Linked DNA regions of Homo sapiens: region 1 is linked to region 2. Evidence: promoter capture Hi-C in 16 types of primary human blood cells and fetal thymus (Javierre and others, 2016). All regions are on one chromosome and are shown on one strand. Each heading gives the region's core, a stretch centred on a gene start or on the middle of the fragment in contact. The rest is flanking DNA. Distances are from core to core; before and after follow the strand shown. Region 1 overlaps PSMA2 (proteasome 20S subunit alpha 2). Region 2 holds the start of COA1 (cytochrome c oxidase assembly factor 1).

Region 1 (5,946 bases), core at 2,456-4,955, 810 kb before region 2:
TTTTGCTTTGGTTGTAAAGAGGGAATACATGATAAAGTAACTGGTTTAATTTCTTTCATTGTACACTGGTTCTGAACATCTAATTATTTTTAGTTGTCTAAATAAAATGCCTCTGAAACAAAAAATAAAACAAATCATAACATATCATGTAATAACAATGTGAAATCTTTGGAAGACTCATTAATATATAAAAGAAAAATGAAAAAGTGCTTTAAGAGCCTAAGATTAAGTTTACCATTTAAATCCAGGCCTAAGATTTTTAATAACCTTAACGTTACGTGAAAAATGTACTGTGAAGGCTCATCTGTTAAACGGAGTTACGAAGTTTTTTATTATTATTCAGCCATAAAAAAATGAAATCCTGTCATTTGCAGCAACATGGATGGAACTCGAGGTCATTACGTTAAGCAAAATAAGCCAGGCACAGAAAGATAAATATTGCATGTTGTCACTCATATGTGGGAGCTAAAAAAGTGGATCTCATGGAGGGAGAGAGTAGCACAGTGGTTACCAGAGGCTGGGAAGGGAGAAGGGAAGAAGAACTGAAGGAAGTTGGTTAAGGGGTCTAAAAATACGGTCAGACAGGAGGAATAAGTTCTGGTGTCCAGTAGTACAGTCAGGAAATTATCGTTAACAATTTACTGTATATTTCAGAACAGCTAGAAGATCTGCTATGTTCCCAACACAAAGAAAAGACAGATGTTTGAGGTAATGGATATCCAATTACCCTGATTTGACACTGTATACAGGTATCAAAATATCACATGTACTGCAAAAATATGTGCAACTATTACATATCAAGAAATAAAACATTTTCTTCTTCAAAAGCTTGGAGAGTCCCGAAGGACTACAGTAACACTGAGACTAGAATACAGCTGGAAATAAGTAAGAGCAGCTTGTACTTGGGCACCGACAGATTTTTACATAGTGCTCCACTTTTTATCAAGCACATGTATCAAATATTTAATATACCTTCAACTCCAGGCATTTGGTTTCACAATTTTTTTTACTGTCGTAAACTGTTATCATTAAATCATTTAAAAATTTGTCTCCCCAAATGTTTTATTCCAGATTCAATGTTCTTTTTTTTCCCTCCTGAAATGGCACAAAAAGTGAAGTAAAAAGTAAAAAAACCAAAAGCATTTAGGAAACCATAGAATGTAGAAAGAGAACTCCTTAGGAAATGAATATTAATTACCACTTAATATACTGAAGTCTAGGAAACTAGAAGGGAGAGAAGTTTTTGGTTTATCTGTAACTAGATTCATATACAGAGTAATATAGCAAGTTTCTTTAGTCCCATGATATTAATTTACTTAAAGAGCACCAAAAACCATAAAGTGAGTTTGCTAAAGAATGCAGTTACAATGAGTAGGCCTACCTTTTCTCAAGGAAAGTCTTCCCATTCACATAGTTCTTTCCCATTGCTGTAGCTTTCCAGGCAAAGTAAGCTCCCTAATCAGGAAAGAAAGAGTAAAAAACCATATTTTAAAACACAAATACAATTATATTGCCCTGCCATTTAATTTTTAGCTTTATTAATTGTTCTCTAACTTCGAAGGTCACAGAATATTATTAGAATGGAAAACGTCACAGAATAGGTTATTTTTTAAGAAGGCTAGAAGGATGGAAACCAAAAAGGCATGAAGAAACTTTTGGAGGTTCTGGAAATTTTTGATATCCTCATTGTAGTAATGGTTTCTTCAGGCATTTACATATATCAGAACTCATCAAACTGATGAGCTGGTGATGATGCAATTAAGTGTAAAATTATGTAAAAAATCCAGTTAAAAGAAATTGAGGTTAACTTAAAGCAAATAATCAAGAGTAGTATTTTAGTTTAATAGACTGAAGCGATTTAAAAATCTATCATATAAATCTGAAAAATGGTGATCAACTCTTGATCATTAGTGAATTAAAAAGAGAGCATCTCATTAGAAAAAAATACCAAAAGAAACATAATCCAATATGTTTTAAATGAAAACAATTGTTTTTTAGACACAACAGAGGAAAATAGGACAAAAGATAAAATCAGGATTCCAGAAATGGTGGCTTCTGCTACCTTCTGGAAAGGAAGATAAGAGGGCCTGTCATTTAGCTTTGGAAGCTCAGAGATGGAGTAACAACACTATCAAAGTTCCCAAAATACTTATTTTTCTGATTTAATTAACAACCAAAATATTTTTCTTTTGCCATCTCAGGTTATAAAAGTAGATTATAAGGTTTGCATTGAGTGAACCTGTAATTATCTAATAATCCATAAAACATGAAAGATCATTTCCTAATCTTGAATTTTGTCTTAAGGTTCTCATAGCAAATGGGACAGATGTGGAGTAGTATTATCCATTACAAACACCTTCTATTCAGATACCATTCTTCTGCATTAGAGCAGACAACTTACCCAAGGTACCAATTACACAATCATTTTTGCAAAACACTGAATTCAAGATAAATTAATGTTTTTGCTGGAAAACTCACTCAAGTCAGCCCCAAGATTCAACTGATGGCAAACACTACAACACTGTCCTCCAGATCCACATCTTCAATTGCAGTATTTCCCGAAGTAACAGGTTTAAATACATTTGATAACTATTTCAACAAATCACCCAAGTGTATGAAGTTAATGAACATGGCAAAAGAGGGTAGAACTAATACAGCTTCCTTATCAGAAGACCAAATTACCAAAATTTTAAATATACACACAAAAATGCACAACCTCATACTTTCTAAAGCCCAAGAGAAAAGAAGAAAATACTGCTAAATTGTAAAGTTTTTATGGCTTCTATTTCTGTTAGATATTCAAAGAGCACTTTTAACAAATCCCTCAAATACATTAAATGATACTTACAGATGGATCTGACTGAAATAAATATGGTCGTCCCTCATTCCAACCACAAATAAGTAAAGAAACTCCAAATGGACGAACACCACTGCAGGGAGGAAAATGAAAATTACTTGGCATTTTCATGGTGTTAAAGTCATCCTCAAGAATTTATCAGTACTCTCAAATAAAGCAAATTATCAGGCAAACTGAATTAGACTTTTAAGTTCCTTAGAAAGTATTTAACACCTTTCTGAATGAATCAATTCAAAACTAATTCTCTTTATGGTAGTGAGGAATGGTAGCCAAATAAAAAAAAATTTGAATTGAACAGTGTTACCTAAGACACTGGGGTTAATAAGTGTGTAGTAACATTTAGTGTCCTAATAAAATGACAACTTTCAATTAATGCAGCTTTTCCACTAGGTTTACCTATTACAAAATGACAACTTTCAGTTAATGCAGCTTTTCCACTAGGTTTACCTATTACAAAATGACAACTTTCAATTACTGCAGCTTTTCCACTAGGTTTACCTATTACAAAATGACAATTTTCAGTTAATGCAGCTTTTCCACTAGGTTTACCTATTACAAAATGACAACTTTCAGTTAATGCAGCTTTTCCACTAGGTTTACGTATCAACAACTACCTATATGCTATCTCATCTACACCCAAACTTAAGAAACTGGGGAATGAAAAGAAATATGAATACGTCCAAGAGCTGCTTTCATCATGTGCTTACCATCATTTCTGGTTAGAAAGATAAATTTGAAAGTAGCGGCCAGGCACAGTCCCAACACTTTGGGAGGCCAAGACAGGCAGATCACTTGAGGTCAGGAGTTTGAAACCAGCCTGGCCAACATAGTGAAACCACATCTCTACCAAAAAAATACAAAAAAAAAAAAAAAATTAGCTAAGCATGGTGATGCACGCCTGTGGTGCCAGCTACTCAGGAGGCTGACGCATAATTGCTTGATCCCAGGAGGCAGAGGTTGCAGTGAGCCGGGATCATGCCATTGCACTCCAGCCTGGGCGACAGAGTGAGACTCTGACTCAAAAAAAAAAAAAAAAAAAAAAAAAAGAAAAATTTAAAGTTGCAATGATTGTCTGTCCATAAAGTGTTTTAATCACTGGCAAAAGAACTTTGTATATCTAGAAGCTGCTTTCTGCTGTTACATAAGCAACAAGAAAACACATTTTTTTCCTTAAATAAATACTCCAGAGCCAGATAAGATCAGAAATATTCATCATAGTGATTCTGTCCACTTGTTAAGCAAATACAGAAATGGTAAGTCCCACTCTATTTATATACCTACTCTTTAAAATAACTTCCCCCTACAATTCATGGCACATTTCAAGTAAAAAAAGCAACTTACCCTGACTGAGTATATTCTTGCATCACAGAAGCTACTCTCTGTACCAGCTGAGCTGTAGGAATGGGTTCTTGGTACACAAGATAGTATTGTTGAGCTAGTTTTCGAGCTCTGTGCACAAGCACTCTAACAAGGAAAAAATAAGATTTAATTACACAGAACATGCTCTACTACCTGAAGACTCATTCTCCTTTTACAGGCATGTACCTGCAGCACAAGTTTAACATGTATCTCTTTAATGGTGGCTATTGGATCAAAGCTAGTCTTACTCTAACACTGGATTCCAGTTGATATAGAAGAAAATATCAGAGCATCAGAGTACCAGTTAGCTTAAAAGTAACAGATTTAATGTACAAAAATGAGAACTTTATCTTGCTCCACGGCTTCTTCAAGACTGTACCCCCATCCAAGGGCAGCCGCTTGTCTTTTTACAGCTCACCCCAGCCCACACACACAAGCACACATAAACACACAGGCACACAATTCTGGGCATATTTTTCTCACTTCAGGTCACTACTTTCTGCAGACTGTTTCAATCTCTCTGCCTGTGCTTCACGGAGTACCCTTCAGAGATTAAGAAACAGTAAGAAACTACTTGTAACTAAAAATGTAAAATTCGGCTAGGTGCAGTGTTTCACGCCTGTAATCCCAACACTTTAAAAGGCTGAGGCAGGAAGATCACTTGAGGCCAGGAGTTTCAGACCTGCCTGGGCAAGACCCTGGGTTACTTTAAAGAGAATAACTCAGATGTGAAAGAGGAGGGAGATAGAGTACATAACTCCTCTTTTCTCTGTTTAATGGACTTTCCTTTCTGACATATTCCTCTTCTACTATACAGGAACTGGGCATAAGGCTTTAGTTTTCTCCAGTGCAGTTTAAAATGATAAAAGCAATACCCAGCATGACCCTGTCTCTTAAAATTTTTTTTCAGAAGTAAAATTTGTCAAAAGAGATTAAGAAGATATTATATAACAATCAAATATATTAGCAAGACAAATAGGATTTATCTTTGCCAGCTCATATACTACTGATCTGAAATATGCACATTTTCCCTCTGTGTGACAGTCATGTCCCATCCCTCAGTTTATCCTATCAGTGGCAGCACAATGCAGTATCCAGCCTATATAGTGGTGACAAGATTCACTGCCTGATCACATTCCACTGACCTTGTTGCGTTGATTCACTGAAGTGAAACTTTGCCTCTACCTATCTTGCTCCACAAAATCATGAGCAATAAAGTAATACTCCTTTTACTTGTTTAAATGACAGACACAGAAAGCTGTCAATCTCTTTCAACTTGCTGGTACCCTGAGTAACAAGATTATTCTCTCTTCCTGTGAAATATAAAGGGGGTGATTACACAAGCATTGGGATCCTGGTTGGCTGCCACACTCAACAACTTGCAGTGGTGTTTGAGAATTTTGTTCCTTTGTGAAGAACAGGAAAAAAGATAACTCTGGATAGTGATACTTTCTTTTGTTGCCTCATACTTTTTAAAATATAGTTTATTATAACTTAAATTGCTTTTATCATTTTTAAACTGCACTGGCGAAAACTAAAGCCCTTACGCCCAGTTCCTGGATAGTAGAAGAGGAATATGTCAGAAGAGAAAGTCCGCTGAACAGAGAAAAGAGGAGTTATGTAATCTATCTACCTCCTCTTTCACATCTGAGTTATTCTCTTTAAAGTAACCTATACAGGCAAACTAAATTCAGCTCTCAACGAGGCTGCTATTGCTAAACAAAGCACAC
Region 2 (5,487 bases), core at 729-3,228:
ACACATGCTATTAAATACAACACAGATGAACATGAATGTTAAGTAAAAGAAGCCAGTTGAAAAAGACCACATGCTGTATGATTTCACTCACATGAATAATCCAGAATAGTCAAATATACAGTCAGTCAATTCATAGTTGCTTAGGGCTTAGAATGGGGAGTGGGGATGGGGAAGTCAGGTGAGCCTGCTGAATAAGTACAGGGTTTCCTTTTGGAGTGATGAAAATGTTCAATTGTTCCAATATGGCTCTCACAAACTGAATGCAGCATATTAAACATGAACAAAAGAATACAAGAATAACTTATTGGAGTCTGTCTGAAATAGAAAATTAAACCAACTAATGAAGGTGAAGAAGATTACAGCATATTTTATGATGATGGTTGTACAACTTTGTGAATGTACTAATGTACTAATTACTTTTAGGTTTTCTTTCTTTTTTTTTTTTTTTGAGATGGAGTCTAGCTCTCTCGCCCAGGCTGGAGTGCAGTGGCGCAATCTCGGCTCACTGCAAGCTCCACCTCCCGGGTTCACACCATCCTCCTGCCTCAGCCTCCCAAGTAGCTGGGACTACAGGCTCCCGCCACCACGCCCGGCTAATTTTTTGTATTTTTAGTGGAGACGGGGTTTCACCGTGTTAGCCAGGACGGTCTTGATCTCCTGACCTCGTGATCCACCCGCCTCGGCCTCCCAAAGTGCTGGGATTACAGGCGTGAGGCACCGCTACGTTTTAAATGGTGAACTCTACGGTAGGTGAACTATGTGTCAGGAAGCTGTTTTATTTTTTTAAAGGACTGAAGACTTTTGTTTTGTGTTTTGTTTTGTTTTCATTTTATCCCGTTTTTAAAACAGTGCCTAGCAATATTATGAATTCAATCGATTTTGGCTAAATGCTAGAACAAAAATTAAAACTTGAGTAAACCATATAAAACTTTGCCATATCTAAAGTTATTAAATTACCGTAGACTGGCATGGTGGGAGCATAATATGAGTGTACCTGCAGGTGTGTTTTCCATGAAAGTAGCAAAGACTGAAAAACTCAGCAGAATCAAGACCCTGTAGGCCCTTGAAGTTAGGCTAAGAAATGTGTATTATCCTGAAAGCAACGGGAAGGCCAGGAAGATTCTGAGGACAGAAATAACACAATCTGATATGCGTTTTAAACGTGCAGGTGTAAGCGGAGAGTTGCTACTTCTATCCAAACGTGAGCCACCTCAGAAATAAAGCAATAGCCCTCCGGGGAGAATGGGGAGGAATCAGGGGAAGACCGGAGAAACAGGTTATCAAATTATCAGAATCTCCATAGATTTTTTTAAATTACACAGCATCCACCCCCAAACACACATACAGACTGATAGGCACTGATATATACATAAATACATCCAATGTCCCCTACACAGAAAATCACTTTTGCAGTCAGCCCCTGTTGGGAGGGTTTTTCTGTTATTCAAGTGTGGTGGGGACAAAAAGTATTATAACCACTAAACCAGGTAATTCTTTCCTACAATAATTTGGGCAGCGTACTCCTCAGGGTGTTGAAATTTAGCACTACCAACAAAAGTGCCCAGTCCCAACTCTTCGAGAGGACCCTAACTCTTTACAGTGTGCTGTTGGGGATGGTCAGCAAAAACTGCAGGACAAGGTCAAGGTTAGCTCGACACAGCCTCCTAACTCCGAGCGGACGGAGCCACTGAAGGTTACCAGGTGCCAAAGAAGCTGCGCAGGGAGGCCGCGACCCGGCGCCGGCGCGAACCTCCGCGATGTGACCCGTGAGGGAACTCTCCAAGAAGCAGCGCACCCCGCGCGCAAAGGCGGCCCCCCGAATTGCAGGAACAAACGCTTCTTGCTGGGGGGAAGACGGAGACTCTTATACCGCGGGAGACTAACCTGTGAGCAACAGAAGCACCACGCTACAAAGAGCATGACGAGTTCTTCCAGGCTTGGGAAAGCACGGGTAAATGCCCGCGGTCCTGCGCGCCAGCGGGGAGCAGTAGAGACTTCCGGCGTCGGCTGCTCGCAGGGCTAGAGCGTCGAACCGGGACAACCGGAGGCTTCAGCTCACCTCGGATTGTAAATGCTAACACGGGTCCTCCGGCCGGCTGATCCAGAACTTAGGTCGCCGGGACGTGTGGCTTCTGCTTCTCAGACGCTCGGACTCGCGCCGGGAAGGGTTTCGCCTCCCCTGGTCCCCGCTTTTTTTTTTTTTTTCTGCGTCCGGTTATTGCAAATGCATTCAGTCCAGTAGCACTAGCCCAGGAAATATAAGCCACCGGCTCACGTTGCTCCTCACAGGTATGCGGCGCTTCCGCTGGCCTCCAAGGACACGAAGCCCCGGGCCGTCTGGCCCCCCACTCTAGCACTGAAATTCCTGCCGCCCCGTTCAGCTGACAAATTTGGCAGCACTAAATTTTATTTTATTCGACAAATTAAGTACCCAGTTAACACCAGGGAGTAACGGGGTAAGAAAATTTCAGAAGGCTGGTGGATAATAATAGCATTTACCTCATAAATTTGTTATGAGGATGTGAAGCACTTAGAGTAGTGTCTGGCAGTTTGTAGGCGCTCAGTAACTGTTAGCTGTTATTATTTTTATATTGATTATTCCATAGTCACCACTATTATCACCTTAATGTCAAGCTTGAAATCCAGTATCTTTCCTCTGCGAAGCCATCACTCCAAGACTAATTAACTTTAGACTGGGGCATTCTTCTTTAAACTCTTGCTCACACATCCCTATCAGAAAAAATATATATATATTTACATGTGTCATGTATGGCATTAATATATTATGCATGCTATAAAACTCACAAGACATCAAACTTTTGATGAGGTAAAAACAATTTTTAAACTTTTTTAAAAACTTCTAACAGAAGTTCTTTTCTTCCTCCACAACAATTAGGTTGCCAAACATACATTCTATCACTCTGGAATCCACTAGCTAAATGAGCACATTATCAAAGCAACCTACCGCTGAATTCTGACTTCCCAGAATGTTTCTTTTCCAAAGAATTAATAGAAACTAATCAGATTGTGAAGTGCTCGGCCATAAGGACTATTTAAATGGTTCTTAGAGAAAAAGAAGAAATAAAATAGGCATCCACTGAGTAATATTCATTGATGCAACATTGATTATTGACTTATTACATTTTCAAAGAGATTGAGGTTATAATACCTTACACCAAGCTTAATATTTCAAAGAATAAATCAACTAATAAAAAGCTTATGAGGTTTGGTATATGTGCATTTCATACAACGTTCATGAAAATGAACCCGAGATCAATTAGCTCCCGTTCTGTACCAGAAAGAGAAATATGTTTACTTTGTAAGTAATAAAACATTAAATAGGCTTTTCTGACCATTTGCTTGAAAACTCAGAACTTAACATTTCTATCACTGGACTTAAATCTGCTAAAGTTTTCGTCTAAATTTTACATTAAAAACAAAACTCTATAGTGAATAATGTTACCTATCCAATATTCATTTTCCTCTAACTCCTTTGTACCAAAATCCTTATTTTATTCAGATAGCTGCCCTGTTCCCAGAATCAAAATGATACTGATTAAACCAGTCATCACACAGAATTTTTTTGTCGTCTAAATTTTACATTAAAAACAAAACTCTATAGTGAATAATGTTACCTATCCAATATTCATTTTCCTCTAACTCCTTTGTACCAAAATCCTTATTTTATTCAGATAGCTGCCCTGTTCCCAGAATCAAAATGATACTGATTAAACCAGTCTTCACACAGAATTTTTTTGGAAATAGTTGCTAATCAAGGAACGAGTATATGACCCAGGTTGGCGCAATCTGACTGAAGGAAAGGACCTCTATTTCATGCTCAGGAGAAAGTTTCTGATATACTGTCCTCTTGACGTCGAAACATCTATCCCACACTGTCATTAGTAGCCATCTTGCCCATCACAAGGAATAAAACTGATGGACCAATGCTGAGGACAACTGAACAAGTTATAAAACAATGTCCTTGGTGACATCATTCCAAACCTGGAGCTCACCCTGTATCTGAATGCCTTGTAGGAATGTCTAATAAGTTTCCTTATTGTTTTTGTTTTCTGTTTTTCTGAGACTGAGTCTCACTCTGTCGCCCAGGCAGGAATGCAGTGGCATGATCTCAGCTCACTGCAACCTCTGCCTCCCGGGTTCAAGCAATTCTCCTGCTTCAGCCTCCCAAGTAGCTGTAACTACAGGCATGCACTGCCACGCCTGGCTAATTTTTGTATTTTTAGTAGAGAAGGGGTTTCACCATGTTGGCCAGGCTTCTCTTGAACTCCTGACCTCAGTGATCCACCCACCTTGGCCTCCCAGAGTGCTGGGATCCTTACTGTTTTCTGATAGAGATGCCATAAAGATTAAATGGGTTAAAATAGTGCTGGTCATATTGTAAGTATTTTAAGTGCTTAATAAATTTTAGTTATTATTAACTCACCTTAAGTCAGGGATTCTGTTTCTTATAGCCAAAATTACCCATCAAAATACACATTCTACCTCTCTTTTTCTATATATTTAAAGAAAGGGTCTGTTTTGATACTTTTAAACTAAGGAGCCAGGGAAGGGGTAGGAGGTGAAGAGAGGAGGGGCTGACTATAATGCTGTATGAGGGCTACTGTTAAGTGGTTAAATGGCTGCTTTGAGATTCACTCAAGAGCAGCAGGATCCTATAACTATCAAATCTGAATGAGGTTACTACACATCGTAGTTGTATGTATACATGAAAGTATCATTTCCTGCATATTAATATTGTGATCCACTGCCTTACTAAGTTGCTTTATTGTTTGGAGTTCATTCTGGTAGAATTTCTAAGATTGCAATCTTATCATTGAAATAGTTTTACCTACTTCTTTCCAAGTTTTATACCTCTACTTTCTCATATCTAATTGTTTTGGCTAGTATCTCCAGTAAAATATTTAATAATAATAATGACAGTAGACTTTTATGTCTTATTCCTATCTTTAATGAGATATCTTTAGAATTTTCCCATTAAGCATGATGCTGGTTTTAAGGACTGAAGTAGACATCTTTTATCATGTTAAGGAACTATCCACCTATTGAGAGAAAGAAGAAAATTTTGGCATAAGAGCTTTGAGAAAACAAAGCATTGAGCGTGCCATAATGTCCTGTCATAAAAATAAGTAAAAGTTAGACAGTATTTACCTCAAAGACACTGAGAAAATTAACATTAGCTAGGTTGGTATGAATGTCCTTTCTTGCTTATCTTACTACCAGCATGAAATTCAGTCCTGCCTAGTTTGTTTACAAGAAATTCACCTGTGATATCCTGATTTTTAACCCTGAAAAAGTTATTTATCTCTTACAATATGTCCTGTTTAATGTAAAGTTAATGCTTGCTCTACATGTTTTTTGTTTTTTGCTTTTGTGTTTGCTTTTACATGTACTCCAAGCACATGCTCTACATGTTTGTTATAGGAAATAATGTGCACCTCCTATAATTTTGTTATAGGAAATTGTAGC

The links. The method cuts DNA at HindIII sites, captures the fragments that hold promoters and counts their contacts. A CHiCAGO score of 5 or more calls a contact.
Region 1: a contact is called between a fragment that was not itself captured here and the fragment with the promoter of COA1 in region 2, in 15 of 17 cell types (naive CD4 T cells, naive CD8 T cells, naive B cells and 12 more). The highest score is 17.8, in naive CD4 T cells.

Annotation. Positions count from the first base shown.
Region 1 is chr7:42,920,477-42,926,422 of GRCh38, forward strand. It overlaps PSMA2 (proteasome 20S subunit alpha 2), which reads right to left. Exons shown (of 8, transcript NM_002787.5): 4 at 4,199-4,321; 5 at 2,849-2,930; 6 at 1,382-1,455. Among named protein-coding and RNA genes, the nearest start is that of PSMA2, 8.7 kb to the right of the region's middle. The HindIII fragment of the contact is 5,758 bases long and covers 827-5,946 here.
Region 2 is chr7:43,727,545-43,733,031 of GRCh38, forward strand. COA1 (cytochrome c oxidase assembly factor 1) reads right to left here and starts at 1,979. Exons shown (of 6, transcript NM_018224.4): 1 at 1,885-1,979. RefSeq lists enhancers at 1,265-1,994, 1,995-2,723, 2,090-2,289. The HindIII fragment of the contact is 9,306 bases long and covers 1-2,632 here.